Linked DNA regions of Homo sapiens: region 1 is linked to region 2. Evidence: promoter capture Hi-C in human tissues and cell types (Jung and others, 2019). All regions are on one chromosome and are shown on one strand. The core of a region is centred on a gene start or on the middle of the fragment in contact, and the rest is flanking DNA. Distances in the headings are between cores, read along the strand shown. Region 1 has its middle 7.8 kb from the start of GPHN. Region 2 holds the start of PIGH (phosphatidylinositol glycan anchor biosynthesis class H).

The links. Contacts are between HindIII fragments. The study calls those that stand out against the background at their distance.
Region 1: a contact is called between a fragment that was not itself captured here and the fragment with the promoter of PIGH in region 2, in 1 of the 25 tissues and cell types used here (lymphoblastoid cells).

The regions. Positions count from the first base shown.
Region 1 is chr14:66,498,710-66,501,933 of GRCh38, forward strand. No RefSeq gene overlaps it. Among named protein-coding and RNA genes, the nearest start is that of GPHN, 7.8 kb to the right of the region's middle. The HindIII fragment of the contact is 5,867 bases long and covers 1-3,224 here.
Region 2 is chr14:67,599,018-67,602,268 of GRCh38, forward strand. It overlaps PIGH (phosphatidylinositol glycan anchor biosynthesis class H), which reads right to left and starts at 1,251. Exons shown (of 4, transcript NM_004569.5): 1 at 1,007-1,251. The coding sequence starts at 1,186. It also overlaps a transcript of GPHN not described here. RefSeq lists an enhancer at 929-1,248. The HindIII fragment of the contact is 9,090 bases long and covers 1-3,251 here.

The DNA.
Region 1 (3,224 bases), core at 233-2,732, 1.1 Mb before region 2:
CATTATACAATATGTTTTTACTAAGTCCATAAAAAGGAGCTTCTCTCCACTTCTGAAGTATGTAATTGTGGACAGATCCAACAGTGGGAAATGAGAAAAAGTAGGTATAAAATAAGTAAAATTATATACCACAGACTTCTTTTACTCTCTCACCAAAAACATCAAAATGACCTGTTGATTCTGCCTCCTTGTTATCTATTCCTTGAATATCATCCACTTTCCTAGTACCACTGTGGTTTTGTTTTTGTTTTTGTTTTTTTCCCCAGGCCCTCCTTCCTGCCTGGATTACCATAGCCTCTTAATTGGTTTCCCCTGCTTCCAGTTCCTCTAATTCATCTTCCACAGTACCACTGAAGCTATCTTTTATAAAAGATAAATGAGATCATGTCATTCCCCTACTGGTTTCTCGCTGAAGTCCAAGGTCCTTCACAGACCATAAATGATATGCCTCCTGCCTACCTTCTCTGTCTCATCTTTCACTATGTCCCCCTTTTCTCATACATCCCACATTGAGCTCCACATTACTATTAATATTTACAGTTCTCCCCATGTATCATTAGTTCTATTAGGTCCATGCACAAAGTGGAAGGATACTTCTCTCCTTTAGCTATGACCATTGCCTGTTTGTCTTAAGGACTGAATGTGCTGCCCTTCTATCCCACTGATACTCAATCCTAGCTGTGTATTGGAATCCCCTTAAGAGCTTTGAAAAATAGCATTCTACTGGGCCCCGCCCCTGATAATTTAAATTATGGTAACTGAGCGATAGGGCAAAAGCATCCGTATTTTTTAAAAGCTTCTCAAGAAATTCTAATGGGCAATCAGGTTTGAGACTTGTTGCTAGGCTCTCTTACTTCTGTCACAGCACTAATTGAACTCTATCGCAATTATTGGTTTATCCAGCTACCTTCCTCATCAGGTGGTGAGCTCTTTGAGGGCCAGGATTCTATCTTGCTATCTTTTCATTTTGACTGCTTAACACAGTGCCTAGCATTTTAAAGAGGCTCAGTAAATGATATGTAGAAGGCCACAGAAAGTTAATTTCCAAGTCCCAGGTCTCTCGATGTCTTGCCTTGTGTTAATTACCACGGGATTATATCATAGTTCCTGAGATCTTCAGATATTTTCTTTCACTCTAAGTTGTCATTAATTTCCTATCTCATGTCAGTATAGAAGAGTTGATTTGTCACAAAACACTTCATAATCTGTAGGAATCCCTCATACTTTCTGGTAATAAGCAAAGTGAGCCAGCCAATTCAAAATCTTCTTTTTCTCAATGTCAATTTAAATCTTTAAAGATGCATTTTAAATATGAATTTTTAAATGTACTTTTGCACTGGAAACGGTTTACAAGAAATCACAGAATTTTGGCATTAGAAGGAACTTTAAATAACTATAAAGTTTCCTTCACTTTCCAAAAAAGGATACTGGAGTTCAGATACATTGAAAAGGTGTCTAAATTCCTACAGTTAATTGGGGCCAGGGCTGGTTACCAGAGCCTAGGTATTAATACTGCCAGTTCATATTCCAATCTAAATTGTATCTTTCCTCTCCTAACCACAAAAATAATGGCCTCTAAAACCCTGAGGTGATTAGTTTAATATTCTACCAACTGAGTTAGTGGAGTATGTAATTTACATTGTTTCAAGAAAGCCATCACTGTACTTATTTAGTCCCTGGGAGATTCTGGCAGTCCTGAGAGATTTTCCAAGTCAATTGGATTAGACAGAGCAATGAGAACAAAAGATGAAAATATAAAATCTGAATGTACTACTGATTACCTTGAACTAGTCATTTAACCTCAGGGCTTTAGATTCCCAATTTTAAAATTAAATTAAAAGAGCATCATTTGAATGTTTTAAAATTATGGGTTTGTTTTTTTTTTTAACCACTACAGTGAGTTTGAATTCGTATATGACCTCCCTCCTTTTTTTTTTTTTTCTTGTTTGTTGTTAACTAAGGCATGGAATAAAGTAGTTTACTTGGTAGCTGAGGTTGTAACTTCTTAAAAAGTGAATTATTTGCCATTGCCAAAGTATTTACATTTTATGTTCATTACCAGTCAGGCTTAACATCTTTCCTTCAAATGTTCCAAACCTTTCAATTTTTTCAAAACACAAAACTGGGATAGCCTGTTATCCTACTTTGTCTTTAGGACTTTATATTGGACTCTGACTTTCATAAGGGCAGTATAAAGTTATCAGTTAGATTGGGTGACTCCTCATGAGTGTCTGCATTTCAGTGAATCCAGGAAATGGATCTCAGTTTTGTGAGTACAGACAAATTTATATGGTCAACTTATTCAAAAGGTCAGAGACTTATTCAAGCTACTCAAACTCCCAAGAGATTAACTGATACACCCAATATTAAATTACAGAGAGGGCTATTACCTTACAATTTGGTGGGAATATGTCTATATTTAGGGTATTCCTATCTCCAAATCAAGTTATAGTAAACTGAACTAGTAATCAAAAAGTACTTGGGATTGAAACATCATTATTATAGTTTTATTTGTGCTCATAATATTCTGATTATATTCCTCTGAGAATAAAATCTCTGATAACCTTAACCACATATGGGCAATACTTTTCAATTTCAAGGTCAATTGAGGAAAAACCTGTCCCACCAGCAATACATTTACAAATCGTAACTTTGGGTAGACTATTTTTGTAACTTATCTCATTTATTTTATCTTGACTTTCTAGCCATGCAGAGGATATCAGCTAACATTCTATCCCAAAAAGTTGCCTTTTTGCATTGCCAGAAAGTGATTAGTAATGTCTGTCACACTTCCTAAATGAAATAAGGCCAACAACAGCCTGATACTTTCATCTTTAGTCTAGAATTGCAATAATCAAAGAGGGGAAGCGACAACACATAACATTTTGCCTTACACTCGTAGATCCAGGCAGAAAATCTAGTTTTAGTGTTGTTTATGTGAACAGTGGCCACCTTAGGTGGTGTCTCTCCTTTTATTGGTAGAGGCTTCTGTAACCTGTTGCACGCCAAGTAAAATCTCTATTGGTCCCTCTGGCACCTTGGAAGGAGCCTGCATTGCTACCAATTCAAAGTCCCTGTTGATTCATATGTTCTGTATTTAGTCAACAAATATTAGGAAATGGGAAGAGAACAAGGTCCCGTGCTGGAAAGGGAGGCTTGGTCTGCAACCAGTCAATTTCACGGCAGGAGATGCACAGGCAGATACATATGAAATATAATTATTA
Region 2 (3,251 bases), core at 1-2,500:
CATACGGTTTAGATAGTTAGATAGTTTCCTGCAATTAGGGCAGTCTTAATTCTGCATATTTCTATGCTAAATTACCATGCTCTGAAACACGCTTTGACAGCAAAAAAGCGAATGGATGCAGTAATGGAAACAATATCCAAGTTACAAAAATAAATAGCCCTGCTGTACTTAGCTCTGATTAGATCACTTCTGGGATAATACATTCAATTCAGGCACTACATATGAAACTAGAACTTATCCTGAAAATTAGGATAATTCTTTTTATTTGAGAGCTGTCACAAAGTTACTGCATTTAACCCTCACAATATCATGAAGCTGGTATGGCAGGCATGAATTCTATTTTAGAGATGTAGAAAATTGAGGCTCAGAGAAAACAGGAATGAATCTGGAAATTGAGCACAGCTATCACACACGTCCAAAATTTCATAAACCTTTAGAAAGTACTTGAAATTGGGGAAGGGTTTGGGAGGAGGGAGGGTTAAAAAACTCCCTTGAAAAACAGAGATTAGGAAGAACTATAACACTCTATCTATACACACAGATAAACACACACACTTGTGGAGGCAAAGACAGTTTGTGGAAGTCTACGTAAAGTATTGTTAGCAGTACTACTTTGAGGAGCAGAAGGGATGGACGAGGAAGACCCACTTAGTAGTTCCTTGAACTCTTGGAATTAAATTACTGCGCGCCTATACTACATAGAACACATGGCAGTTAAAGTTTTAGGCCGTCGCGCAAGAACTAGATGTATGCTGAGTGAACCCACGGAGCAGAGCACAGCCACGGAAGGGGAATGTACTATCCAGGAGCACACATTTCACTAAACGTCATTTAAAGAGCTGTCCAGCAGCGGAATATCGTCCCCAGAACCCGTGAGTTCCCGCCCTCCTGTCCTATCACTGTAGGAGGGGCCGACCAGAGGTCCGGGCTCGACCAAAGACCCCAAAGACCCTCCCAAAGCCGAACCCCCTCCTTCGAGCGCGGGGAGGGGCCGACTTGCCATTACCTCGCAGAGGGTGAAGAGTCCGTAGGCCGCCAGCCACACCGTGCAGGTGACAGCGGTGAGCGAACGCAGCGAGAGCCGAGGGCAGCTGAGGCAGAATTCCCGGCAGGACGGGGAGTAGTAGCGGCGCTGCAGCGCCAGGCGGCCGCCGCAGATATCCGAAAAGCTCCGCTCATCCTCCATGACGCCCCCACTCGGCCGCCCGCACCGCGCGGCGCTGCACTGCGCTCGCCGGCCCTGGCCGTCTCGCCCGCTCCAGACCCGCTTCCGGCAGCCGCGTCACCACGCCCCGCCCTAAGCCTGCGCAGCCTCAGTTGCGCGCCGAGAGCTCTGCTGGGGGCTGATGGTTGTGCGTTCTTCCGGGCCGGCCTTGACTGTCTTCGAAAAAACCTCGTCGGGGCAATAGTTAAGTGGAAAGATTAAAATCGTTTTTAGACCGGGCGCGTTGACTCAGGCCTGTAGTCCAGCACTGGGAGGCCAAGGCGGGAGGATCGCTTGAGCCTGGGAGGTCGAGGTTGCAGTGAGCGGAGATCATGCCCCTGCTCTCTAGCCTGTGCGAGAGAGCAAGACCCTGTCTCAAAACAAACCCACAGTTTGTTTTTGTTTTGAGACGGAATGGCGCGACGTCGGCTCACTGCAACCTGCTTCCCCCGGGTTCAAGCGATTCTCCTGCCTAAGCCTCCTGAGTAGCTGGGATTACAGGCGCGCGCCACCACGCCCTGCTGATTTTTGTATTTTTAGTAGAGACAGGTTTCACCATGTTGGCCAGGTTGGTCTCAAACTCCTGACCTCAGGTGATTCGCCCGCCTCGGCCTCCCGAAGTGCTGGGATTACAGGCGTGAGCCACCGCACCCAGCCCAAACCCACAGTTTTAATCATGCTTTTGCTTGGCAAGCCGATTTCTCTAAGCCAGAGTGAGCCGCAAGGAGAGCCCACGGGTATTCATTTCACTTACTCTTTTCCTGTGCCGGGTAGTTTGAGGTGCTTGAGGATGCAGCAGTGAACGATGTTGATGACAGTCTCTGCCCTCGGGCAGCTTCCTTTCTAGTAGGAGACAATATGGAAATAAGAGAGTATCGTTGGCAATACTATGCTGACTGGCAGGGATGGACTGAGGACTTTACATAGGGCAGTCAGGCGAAGTCTCTAAGTAAGAGGACACTGAGTTACAAGGGTGACGAGCCAGACAGGACTGAAGGAGCTCTGGAGGAGGAATTTGCCAGAAAGAAAGACCAGGAAAGGCAAACCCCTCGAAGTTGGAACAAGCTTGGCTTAATGAAATAATCAAAAGGCGAGAAAGGTTGGTGTGTGGGGAAAACAGTTGGAAGCTGGGGAGGCAGGTAGGGGTCAGATCCAAGAGGGTCTTGTAGGGTCTGGTAAGGAGTTTGGATTTCACTGCCTGGGAGTTCTGTCTCCCAAATGACTGCTTGGACCGTGGTAGACAGGCAAGACCTGGCTGGGAATTAAGCAGGAGCGGGAGATGCAGAAGAAATGGATAATAAAATTACTAAACTCATGAGTAATAGTGGCCTATGAGTTCCATTTTTACTTCTGATGTGGCCCAGGAGTGGCTATGTGGACTGTCAAAACACTTGTGATGGGCTGGGCATGGTGGCACATGCCTGTAATCTCAGCACTTTGGGAGGCTGAGGAGGGCAGATCACTTGGGTCAGGAGTTCAAGATCAGCCTGGCCAACATGGTGAAACCATCTCTACTAAAAATACAAAAAAATTACCTGGGCATGGTGGAGCATGCCTGTAATCCCAGCTGTTCGGGTGGCTGAGGCAGGAGAATCACTTGAACTTAGGAGTTCAAGACCAGCCTGGGCAACAGAGCAAGACTGTGTCTATATTCATTTAAAAAAAAAAAAAGATCCATGGCATAAAGGTCTCACCAGCTTTAAGTCTCTCTGATGAAAGGTTCCGTTTCTTCATCTTCATTCAGAATTTTATTTCCCTTTCTTTTTTCCTAAAGGATTTCTTCAAGCACTTCTTTATTTTTCTAGTTTTATTTCTGTGCCCCGAATCTGACAATTAATACACTCCTTTTATTAGTCCGTTTTCACACTGCTATAAAGAACTACCTGAGACTCGGTAATTTATAAAGAAAAGAGGTTTATTGACTCACAGTTCCACATGGCTGGCAAGGCCTCAGGAAACTTACAATAATGGTGGAAGGCAAAGGGGAAGCCAGGCATGTCTTACATGGCAGCAGGAGGGGAGTGGGGAAGTGCCACATTTTTAAACC